Linked DNA regions of Homo sapiens: region 1 is linked to region 2. The links are contacts of gene promoters, found by promoter capture Hi-C in human tissues and cell types (Jung and others, 2019). All regions are on one chromosome and are shown on one strand. Each heading gives the region's core, a stretch centred on a gene start or on the middle of the fragment in contact. The rest is flanking DNA. Distances are from core to core; before and after follow the strand shown. Region 1 overlaps LINC02951 (long intergenic non-protein coding RNA 2951). Region 2 holds the start of FAM181B (family with sequence similarity 181 member B).

The links. The method cuts DNA at HindIII sites, captures the fragments that hold promoters and counts their contacts. A contact is called where the count stands out against the background at its distance.
Region 1: a fragment that was not itself captured here is called in contact with the fragment with the promoter of FAM181B in region 2 in 1 of the 25 tissues and cell types used here (dorsolateral prefrontal cortex).

Annotation. Positions count from the first base shown.
Region 1 is chr11:83,074,161-83,079,971 of GRCh38, forward strand. All of the region lies in intron 2 of LINC02951 (long intergenic non-protein coding RNA 2951), which reads right to left. Among named protein-coding and RNA genes, the nearest start is that of RAB30-DT, 5.0 kb to the left of the region's middle. The HindIII fragment of the contact is 6,094 bases long and covers 1-5,144 here.
Region 2 is chr11:82,732,592-82,738,654 of GRCh38, forward strand. It overlaps FAM181B (family with sequence similarity 181 member B), which reads right to left and starts at 1,273. Exons shown (of 1, transcript NM_175885.4): 1 at 1-1,273. The coding sequence starts at 1,138. The HindIII fragment of the contact is 21,418 bases long and covers 1-6,063 here.

The DNA.
Region 1 (5,811 bases), core at 848-3,347, 340 kb after region 2:
CCAATCTGGACAACAGTGAGACTATGTCTGTTTTTAAAAAAGAAAGAAAGCTTGTGTTTGAGAAGTGATACCTCTAGAATACAGTGATTTCTATAATTTGTCATGTGTTTGGGTAGTTTGAAGTTTTTCTATCCTTGTATCTAATGGACATCTGACCATAAAGATGAAAAAATCCTGCACTCATTATAAATTTTATTTATAAAATTGATATTTGAGGAGTTGGGGAGGCCAGCTTCTGAAAAAATAACAGTGTCCCATAGAAACACCACAACTTAGGAAAATATTGTTAAAGTGGAATTAGGAATATCTAGAGGAGGTAAAGCTTTTCATCTCTCAAAAAAGAATTAGGGCCAGGCACAGTGGCTGACACCTGTAATCCTAGCACTTTGGGAGGCCGAGATGGGCACATCACTTGGGGCCAGGAGTTCAAGACCAGCCTGGCCAACATGGCGAAACCCCATCTCCAAGAAATAGAAAAGTTAGCCAGGTGTGGTGGCGTGCGCCTGTAATACCAGCTACTAGGGTGGCTGAGGCAGGAGAATCGCTTGAACTGGGGAGGTGGAGGTGGCAGTGAGCAGAGATTGAGCCACTGTACTCCAGCCTGGGCAACAGCAAGACCCTATCTCAAAAAAATAATAAAGAGAATTAGGACATGGATTTGTATTAAAATTATAGGTAGCTCATTTAAGAGTATGAAGCCAATTGCTGTTAGAGCAAGGGTTTTTTTCAGTAGAGGTGTCAGGATAACCTATACAGCTCTAAAAGTATATGGCTGTTACCTTCCCATCCCTGTTGAAATCTCCAGGGTTAGAACCAAGTATTGTGTTTTTAAAACTATAGGTGAGTCTACAAGAGTTGGGTGGAGTAGTCCTCTACATCCTGTGTTTGTATTTTTGCAGTAAGTCACACAATAACAAAAGCTTTGAGAAAGATTTTAGGTTTATTGCTAATTATACCCATGAATGAATTCTGAAAATGTGTAGATAAGGAATTTACCTGGTGAACGGTTTACACATGGCAATTGTGGGAGGGAGAGGGGAGTGAGAGGAGATGAGATCAGTTTTAGCTTTAAGAGGACCAACCGGGCCAAGCACGGTGGCTCACGCCTGTAATCCCAGCACTTTGGGGCCGAGGTGGGTGGATCACGAGGTCAGCAGTTCAAGACCAGCCTGACCAACATGGTGAAACCCCGTCTCTACTAAACATACAAAAAATTAACTGAGTGTGGTGGCGGGTGCCTGTAATCCCAGCGACTTGGGAGGCTGAGGCAGGAGAATCGCTTGAAACTGGAAGGCGGAGGTTGCAGTGATCCGAGATTGTGCTAATGCACTCTAGCCCGGGCAATAACAGCAAAACTCCCGTTTAAAAAAAAAAAAAAAAAAGGGACCAACCATGATATCCTGACTAACCTGTATATTTCTTAGAATGAGGGTTTAGCCTAATATTAAGAAAGTCTAATGTTAAGAGACACCTAGTAAGAGCTCAACGCTGTGGTAAAATTATGATAGTTATGCAGAAACTTAAAAGCTGAAGTATCCAGAGACAATATATTGTTTAGAATTTTCTGAAAATAAAAATTTTCTTGCCCTAAGTCTTGAATTTTTAAGTTATTGATGTTAATATTTATGATCTTTGAACAAATGATATTATAATAGAGTATCTTTTAGGTCACAGAGACCCCTTTTTAGAGCTGAGAAATCTTACAAATTCCTCAGCCCATGTTTTACAGATAAGGAAATGGGCATGCACACAGTGAAATTAAAAATTGCTAGTGGTCACACTGTACATTGATGGCAAAGGCAGGGCAGAATTAGAATCCAATTATCTTACCTGTTCAGTGTCTTTAATGATACAGCAAGCTCACCACTGTTTCTCTTTACTCTTTAAACAGTGGATTTTTTTTGTCATGATTTTGATTTCTTGTATAATGCAGTTCAATACTTGTTTAATTTTAATGTTGGACTCTCAATTTTTAAGACAGTAGTACACATGAAATGTGCTTTATATTTTATGTTTCAACAAGAAAATACACATTTTCCTTTTAATAGAGGAGCTTAAGTTCCTAATTTAAATAATTGAGTATGAGCTTCAGATACTTCAGAGTGGTATTAATAAACTTTGCTTTTCCAAATGGTTTCAGATAAGCATTTAATATTCAAAGCTTCCTCTTTACAGCTTAGGAAGTGGTCTGGTTAAGTGACTTGAGTTCATACAGGAATATATCGGTATGTTCCTAATTCCCATCAAGTGTACCATTATGTAATCATATAATCTTGCTAACAGATCTAACAGATTACTTTTTTTTTTTTTTTTTTTTTGAGACAGAGCCTTGCTCTGTCGCCCAGGCTGGAGTGCAGTGGCGCGATCTCTACTCACTGTAACCTCCGCCTCCCAGGTTCAAGCAATTCTTCTGCCTCGGCCTCCCAAGTAGCTGGGACTACAGGCAGGCACTACCACACCCGGCTAATTTTTGTATGTTTAGTAGAGACGGGGTTTCACCATGTTGGCCAGGCTGGTCTGGAACTCTTGACCTCAAGTGATCCGTCTGCCTCTGCCTCCCAAAGTGCTGGGATTATAGGAGTGAGCCACTATGCCTGTCCTCTAGGGAAAATCTTTAATTCATTCTGGACAATGAGAAAACTTTTATTTTTACTTTTAGTTAACAATACTCAGGAAAATAAAAAGTGTGCTTTTTAATCTTAGTAACCCAATTTGAGTTTGAAACAAATTTACATAATTTTAGCTGCTTAATATGCTGCTGAAGATAAATGCAGTAAATATCCCAAGGTCAAGATTTGAAATCCAAATGTCCATAGTAATGATTAACAGGAAAAGAGAGTCCTCTGTTAACTTTATTTCTCAATTTTTTACAGGTTTGGATAATTAAGGGAGCACTAGAAAACTTTTTTTTTTTTTTTTGAGATGGAGTCTGTTGCCCAGGCTGGAGTACAGTGGTACGGTCTCGACTCACTGCAATCTCCGCTCCTGGGTTCAAGTGATTTCTCTTGCCTCAGTCTCCTGACTAGCTGGGATTTACAGGCGCATGCCACCATGCCCAGCTAATTTTTGTATTTTTATTAGAGACGGGTTTCATCATGTTGGTCAGGCTGGTCTCAAACTCCTGACCTCGTGATCCACCCGCCTCGGCCTCCCAAAGTGCTGGGATTACAGGTGTGAGCCACCGTGCCCAGCCGAAAATGTTTCTTTGCAAGGATAAATATATGAAGATAAACTTGCCGAGCGTAAATATGTTCATGAATATAGCCACTTAAGGAAATTCAAACATGCAGAGATGTTCAGCTGTATGCAGTTATGTATTCATGAAGTATTCATGTATTCATGAAGCCTTATTTGATGTAGAATCTGAGGGTGCTGCCTATACATAAACTTGCTTAAAGGTTAAAACTTAAGGAATGTTCATCAAAGTCACTTTCTTACACCTAACTCCTGATTTCATGAATATAACACATAGGTGCTTATCAAACTGAATACCTTGGAGATGAGCTGCTCCAGCACCAGAAGATAAAATTCAGTAACTGTAATCCTTGAGGTACCTAAGTGATACATTTTTTTTAAGACTGAGCCAAAATAAAACAGCTTTCCTCCTTCCCTACCCTCTCCGACCAAACTTTTAGCCATTTTATTTATTTATTTATTTGAGATGGGGTCTAGCCATGTGGAGTGCAGTGGCTATTCACAAGCATGATCATAGCAAATGACAGCCACAGACTCCTGGGTTCGAGCAATCCTGCCTCAGCCACTCAAGTAACTAGGACTACAGGCGTATACTGGGGCTTCTAGCCATTTATATGGTATTAAGTGACAGCTTCTATAGTTACTTGGTACTTGTCCCTGTAAAACTGCACAGTGTGTATTCTCTTGGCTCAATTATTAGCATATTCTGCCATTTCCTTGTGAATGTTTTGTATTTTATATAGGAAAACTTAAGTTTTTAAATATCCTGAAATAACTGAAGAATTTTGTTTTTGCCTTTAAGTGGTAATGTATAAAGTATACTATTGCAGAGATACTTACAGAGTGCTTTCATTGCAATTAAAATACTGCAGCTAACTAGCATGTTCCATATGTGTAATCTAAATGACATACTGGTCATGTGCTATTTCTATGGAATACTAACAGTAGTATGGTACATTTATGCAGTCTCAACAGTTTAAAGTGTTATTTTGGTGATAAACTGTTTACATTTATTTGTTTTTATATTTGGCAGTCTAAATGCAAGAGTCTCCATTTCAGCTCTTTACTCTGCATATCTTTAATGTTGGGCATTATGCCTCTTTCTTGAGTTTCAGTCCTATGACTGTTCCATTTTCAGTATTCATGTTTATGTGTCTTTCTAAAATTGTTTTGCTTCTGTTTCTTGCTGCTCTTGAGACAATTTATGGGCAAATTTTGTTACTTTTCAACTGGCCGTGTATTTCCCTGTGAAGAGTTGCTGGATTGTCTCATTTTCCAGATAAACTGAATTAATGTAGTAGTGAGGAGAAGCCAGATTTCAGAGGTTTGACAAGTGAACAAATGGGAATGAGAAAAGAAGTAGGTACTTAAACTTTTAAGAAGTTTGGCTCTGAAAAAGGCAAGAAATAATGGGTTAGAGAGGGCAGGATTGTAAGGATTTAAGATAGGAGAAGAGGCATAAGCATATTTAAATTTCCCTACTTAAGGGCCAAAATCATACTGTACCTCAGTCTGAACTTTTTAAAGGAATTCAAGGACACAAAATTCTGCCCTGCCCTGAAATCCAGTCAGGAGGAAGGGAGAAGAGCTCTGAAGTACTTTTGTAATTTTCTTCTACATAATAATTGATTTTTGTTTGATTATTTTTCTTTCCTATAGCTCCTGTTTGCCAGGTTTTTCATAGCTGCCTATTTAACCAAACTTGTACTCCCAAGAATAGTGCATATTTATGATTCTTAATTCCAAAAACACATGGCAATGATAATGTCTCTGCTTCTTTTGAGAAATTAACTTGGTTCTGAAAGATGGTGTTTGCTTTTCACACCTGTATCATTAATACTTCCTTGCCAAACCTAACTAGGATCCTCACCACCACTGTTAGAGAAAACTGATGCTCAGTTGAACCAGAATGTTAAATGTGAACAGGATTTGTCTGTGTTGTTGCCCAGCTATGTTTATCCATACACATTACCTGGAGGAAGAGAAATCTGAGATAATTGAGTTGATTAGATTACTTACATGAAGATGGTTTAATTGTATCAATACAGAAAAATGCACAAGGAAAGAAACTGACACCTTAAGGCAACAAAGCCCTCCATAAAAAGTAACCGAATTTTGAGAGTTACGAACTAATGTCCATTACCTGAAGTCCTTCTCATTCCATTACCCAGTAACATAAATCAAATTCAGTAAATAAGCTGCTTTATGTCTTGAGAAATTTAACTGGCAGAATAAATGGAAAGAAGTCAGTAAAAAGGGAGCAGTTGAACAAGCATGGTGTCTCACACCAATAACCCCAGCACTTTGGGAGGCCGAGGCAGGTGAATCACTTGAGGTCAGAAGTTCAAGACCAACCTGGCCAACATGGTGAAAACCCATCTCTACTAAAAATGCAAAAATTAGCTGGGCTTGGTGGCAGGTGCTTGTAATCCCAGCTACTCAGGAGGCTGAGGCAGGAGAGTCACTTAAAACCCAGGAGGCAGAGGCAGTGAGCTGAGATCGTGCCACTGTACCCCATCCTGGGCAACAGGACGAGGCTCCATCTCAGGGAAAAAAAAAAAGAAAAAGCTGAGCATGGCGGCATGTGCCTGTAGTCTTAGCTACTCAGGAGGCTGA
Region 2 (6,063 bases), core at 23-2,522:
AGTCTGGAAAGAAGGGGGCGAAAGAGGCCAAATGGCCCCGCCCGTCCTCCCCGCCGGGAGAATCCGCAGCGGCGGGGTACAGGGGGCTCAAGGGCTCGTTCAAGGTCAAGCCGCCGCGGGGGGCAGTCAGGGGGCTCTTTTTGGTCGGGGAGCAGCCCGGGACGCTCCAGGGCTCGGGGTACAGTAGGTTTCCCACCACTGCCGGCGGCGGCTCAAAGAGGCCGGGCTCCAGCTCCGGGGGTCCCCGCAGTACGGAGGCTCCGGCGGGGAACACGTCGAGAGGCTCGGCGGCAAGCAAGACTGCCGCCTCCGTGCCGGCGCCGTAGTCGGGCCCCAGCAGCTCAAAGAACTCCACGGCCTCCGCGCCCTTCTCCAGGTCGCCCAAGCTCACGTCCGGCCCCGACGGGCCACACCCGCCGCCGCCTGCCCGGGACGGCTCCGTGAAGAAGGACGGAGGCAGATTGCGTGCCCGCAGCGGGACCTTCCTGGCCCCTGGGATCGCCGTGGCCCCCGCGGGGCCTGCCACGTCCCCTCCCGCGCCCCCAGTGCCCGCACCTCCTAGCCCGGCCGCCGGCGCAGCCACCTCACCCCCCGCCGGCTCGGCACCCCCGGGGACGTGGCGCAGCGAGTCGAAGAGCGCGGCCAGACTTCGGCTTTGCAAGCTGGCGGCCGCGGCGGCCTGCGACGCCTCCCGCCGGGGGGCAGCCTTGCCGTGGGCCGGGGCCGCGACTGTCGGGGCGCTAGGGGCGGCCAGCGGCCGTTTGGCTGGCGTGTCGGCGGCGCTCGGGGAGGGCGGGCCGGGGGGCGCGGCGCCCATGAGGCCGCTGCAGCGCTTGATCTGCTTCTGCAGGTACTTGCGGTGGTTCACCTTCCGCTTCGACTTGCCCGGCTTGTCCAGCGCCAGCTTGATGTTGCTGGACGCCGAGTCAATGAAGCTGAGTAGATCGCGGGTGGCCTCGCGCACGTCCCCTCCTTCGGCTCCCGACAGCAGCGCACCCGCCGGAGCCCCGGTCTCATCGTCCTCGAAACAGCAGCCCTTGTCCAGGGCTCCGAAGGCGCCCCCTAGCCCGTCCGGGGAGCCCCCGAAGCCGAAGGGCACGAAAGGGTGCGTGCTGAGGAGCGCCGCCTGCACCGCCATCGCCGCGGCTCCCGGGCTGTCCGCAGCGCTGCCCGTGCGCCCCCGCCAGCTCCTGCCCGCCGCCCAGACCCAGCTCCCGCCCCGGCGCGGCGCGCGCGGCGCAGCCTACTAGTTCCGGGCCTGGCTCGCTGCGCTGCCTCCCGGGGGAGCTCATTAGGTCTTGTAAGCAAGGGGCGGAGGGAGGGAGCGCGCGGCGACCGTCCCGGTGGTAGAGGGGAGGGGCTTACTTAGCCTGGCTTGGAGGAGTGGGGGGTCGCTTTAGTTTTCTGAGCTTTCTGAAGCTCAACGCCTTAACTCCTTCGTTTCCCTTTGCCCCGTGGTGTTTCTCTTGACTCCTCTAACCGCAAGGGGTGAGGAAGAGATGGCTGGTCTCAAACTCCAGTTCAGGCCCATGAGGCCGCTGCAGCGCTTGATAGGCTTCTGCAGGTACTTGCGGTGGTGCCTCTCCTGAGGCAAGAAGGCAGGAGTCTAGAGACGTGGGTTTCAGTCCAGCTGTATAACAACACCCACCAGCTTCTGGGCGCTTGCTTCTGCCAGGCGCTGTCCATCTATTATCTCATTTAATCCTTGAACAACAGCCCTGTGAATTACATGTTATCGCCATTCAACAAACGTGGACACTGCACCTCAGGGAGGTTCAGTGAGTTGGCCAAAGTCAGATCTAGCCCATTCTGACTCCAAAGCCATTCCTAAGCCCTTGACAATACTTGCGTCCTCTCTTGCCCTTGCCTTTCTCATCTATTAAGATGGGGAAGGAAAATGAGTATTTCTTAAAGCTCTAGACCTGATCCTAAGATTCTAACCTGAGTTTTCCCAGGATTCTCAAGCCCAGTGCTCTTTCTTCTTGACTGTTTGCCACTTGATTGTTACGAGTAACAATTGGCTAACAGTAAATTGAGGCCAGCAGTGGCCCATCTTTTATTAACACATAGCAGGAGGCAATGGAGAAAGGAGTCGATCTGGCTAAGCCCCCTGTTACTTGAGAACACTGTGTGTGTATAAAACTCTCAGCATGTTAGAATAAAAGATGGATTGGAACCTCTCCCCTACCTGTCATACCATTTAGGTTATCCCTGGAATTTTCATTGCATTTCAGGGATCATCATGAAGTTCACTTAAAACTAATTTCACCTGGGCAATCCTCTTTGGGATAGATAGAGAAAATGAGCAATAAGGTCATTTTCACAAGAGATTCAGAAGAGGCTTGGGTTCTGGTCTTAGCCACCACTCAATAACCTCATGACTTAGGTTGAAATCCTTGCTCTGCTGAGTGCATGGCTTTAGACAAACCAGCGTACTCTCTCTGTTTAGCTTACTCATGTTAAATGCAGGTAAAGTTGCCCTCCCCACAGGGCACTTGTGATATTTAAATGATACATTGTTCCATAGCCTGGATGAGTATTCACCCTTACTTCTCTGAAACACAAAAAGGTGACTATATCCCTTACGTGTCTTCTGGATCATAGGGTGTTCATGAGCATTAAGTGAGATCATAGATGCTTCTCAATTTGTGATAGAGCAACAACATCCTGATAAACACATTGTAAGTTGAAAATATTGTAGGTTAAAATGCATGTAATACACTGATTCAAGTTGGAAAATCATAAAGTTGAACCATCATAAGTTGGGGACTGTCTCTATATGAAAACACTGTGTGTGTGATAAAGTGTTCTCTAAATAAGTTACTCTAGTTTCGATACAGAGCTTGCATAGGAGAGACATAGACCATCTCTTTCAAAACTCTTTTTATTAAGCCTCACTTTGTAGATGTAGCGAAACCATTTTTGAACACCATGAAGGCACAGCCTTACCAAAGAAAAAAGGCCAGATGGGCCATCAGAGAAATACAAATCAAAACCGCAATGAGATACCATCTCACACCAGTTAGAATGACGATCATTAAAAAGTCAGGAAACAACAGGTGCTGGAGAGCATGTGGAGAAATAGGAACACTTTTATACTGTTGGTGGGACTGTAAACTAGTTCAACCATTGTGGAAGACAGTGTGGCGATTCCTCAAGGATCTAGAACTAGAAATACCATTTGAACCAGCCATCCCATTACTGGGTATATACCCAAAGTATTATAAATCTTGCTGCTATAAAGACACGTGCACACGTATGTTTATTGTGGCACATAGCAAAGACTATTATTCACATAGCAAAGACTTGGGACCAACCCAAATGTCTATCAGTGATACACTGGATTAAGAAAATGTGGCACATATACACCATAGAATACTATGCAGCCATAAAAAAGGATGACTTCATGTCTTTTGTAGGGACATGGATGAAGCTGGAAACCATCATTCTGAGCAAACTATCGCAAGGACAGAAAACCAAACACTGCACAGGTGGGAAATGAACAATGAGAACACTTGGACACAGGGTGGGGAACATCACACACCGGGGCCTGTCGTGGGGTGGGGGGATGGGGGAGGGATAGCGTCAGGAGATATACCTAATGTAAATGACAAGTTAATGGGTGCAGCACACCAACATGGCACATGTATACATACGTAACAAACCTGCACATTGTGCACATGTACCCTAGAACTTAAAGTATAATAAAAAAGAAAGAAAGAAAAAAGGCCAGATGAACATTTTTCATTTAGAAGATGAAGTAGCCACTTCCCAAACCCACATAGCTGAGCCAAACTTTTTATTTTAAATTCAAATTGGCTCAATTATCATGGACTTTTCATTTGAGTTACACACAGCATTTTGTCCTCCATGGCCGAACTGTCTGTTTTACTCTTGGTGGTATTCACATTCAGAAAATTGTGCAGACCTGTCACTGATTTGTGCTTCTTCCACTCCAGATGTGGATGTCAGCACTGCCCATCCCCTTTCCAACAGGGCCATTCCATAGGCTTCCAGGTCTGGCAGCCAAAAGCACTAACTTTTTTTTTTTTTCACCTTCTGTCAACTGAGCACTCTTACAAGTCCTTGGACACCAATTGCACAGTACTCTACATTTAATCGACATCTTATTCCGAAAAAACTCTTAATCCCCAGGGTTATCTAAATCCTAAAATCATATTCAAAATAAATGGAATATGAAAAGCTTCATATGTAAAAGTCTTTCTTCATTTCTATTGGAGTTCTGCACATCAAAGTTGATTTGAAGTTAGATGAGGCCAGGTTCAAATTCTGGCCCTGCCTATTGCTATTGAACTGCTTGGACAAGTCAGTTCATATTCCAAAGGCTCAAACTCCTTATCTGAAAAAAGGGAATGGTCATAATTGTTCTCAGGGTGAGAATTACATGACATAACAGGCAAGTAATGCCTCTGAATCTTACTTTTCTCACCTGCACAGTGGAGATAATCTCAACTCCTCAAGGTTGTTGTGAGATGGTATATATAAAAGCACCTCACACAAAATAGCAGTTCAACAAATGTCCATGTTCTTGATTCCTTAGGCCCCACCCATTCCTTACCAACACATTACCCTATGAAACCAGCATCATTTGTCCTTTCCCTCAGCAAAGTGAGTGACTATTTTCAAATGCAAGAGAGTAGCTATACTTGGGGGTTGTAGAAACTTACAAAAAGACAATGAAATACAGGAGAGAGAGTGCTAAAACTGGAGCCGGAGACTGACACTGGAGTCCAGTCCTGCCTTTATTATCTGACTGCCTATGGAAAAGTCACTTAACCTTCAGGACCTCGATGTTCCCATCCATAAATGGGGAATAATAACATAATCCTATTTGATAGGGCTATTGTGAAAATCAATAAGATAATGGAAATTGAAGTTTTTGTAAACCATGGAGCTGAAATTCATGGCTTAGAAGTTCTATAGCCTGATTCACAAAATTGATCCTTACAAATAAATATCCATCCAGTCACTGATTTTTTCCAACAGAAAGATATTGACACCCACAATGTGCTCAGCGCTATGCTAGTACTGGGGATACAGAGATAAGAAGCCATGATTTCTACCCTTTGGGTGGAAAGACAAATATGCAAACAAGCCATTGTAATATAATGTGATACATGTCCAATGGAAGTAAAAGGACCCTCAAGTCTGCCCACAGGAGTTGGAGAAGGCTGCATAGACATGCAGCATTTGAGCTAAGACTTAAATGATATATCTGACTGTGTAAAGCAAACACACAATATCTGTGGCAGAGAGAACAGCCTGGGCAGAGGCATGGCTAAATGAAAGCAGTGGTGTTTATGGGAAAATGTAGGCAATAGGGCAACAAAGAACAGCTTCTGCTTGAAGTAATTCTATACCTGAGACCAAAATAAATCCTTAGAGCTTCCACTGTCCAACTAAATTGTACATATAGACCCAGCCTCAAGGCCTTGGCTGCTTTTTCCCTTGATCTCCTTTCCTTTGAGGAAGAGCTCTATCTGGAATGAAATTGGTTTCAGTAAAGTTAGTAGCCAGCTCTAGCCAAGCCCATCAGTCCCTCCTCCTACTCCCTGAGTGAGCACATTCATTTGAGTGGCTTTGACATCAATACATTTCACTTCCTATGGAGCAGAGGGACCCGGCTCCAGCCTGCAGTAGGGGCTCTCTGCAGAACTCCAAACTAGAGCTCTTTCACCCCAGTGACGCTTAATGCTGTGCAAGTGGGATTAGTCTCCTTGGGAACCAAGTCCCCCAGGGGCTCAAGGGCTGAACTCGCCCCAAACCGTTTGGGAGAATTGAGATTTCATATTGTTCTTTTACACTTGGATTTCAGGACATTACTTAGACAAAAGCCCACCTGAGAGCTGCCTCCTTTCTTGTGGGTAAATATAGCAGCAGGATCAAAAGCTGACTTATTTATTTTGTTTTCGTCTTTTGTAACTTTAATCATATTCCCTGCAGGACAATCTTAGCCCTCAGAGATGTCAGGAATGTACATTCATAATGAAAGAAATAATTATGCATCTGTTTTTCTCTCCCTTCCCAAACCAATTTCCTGTC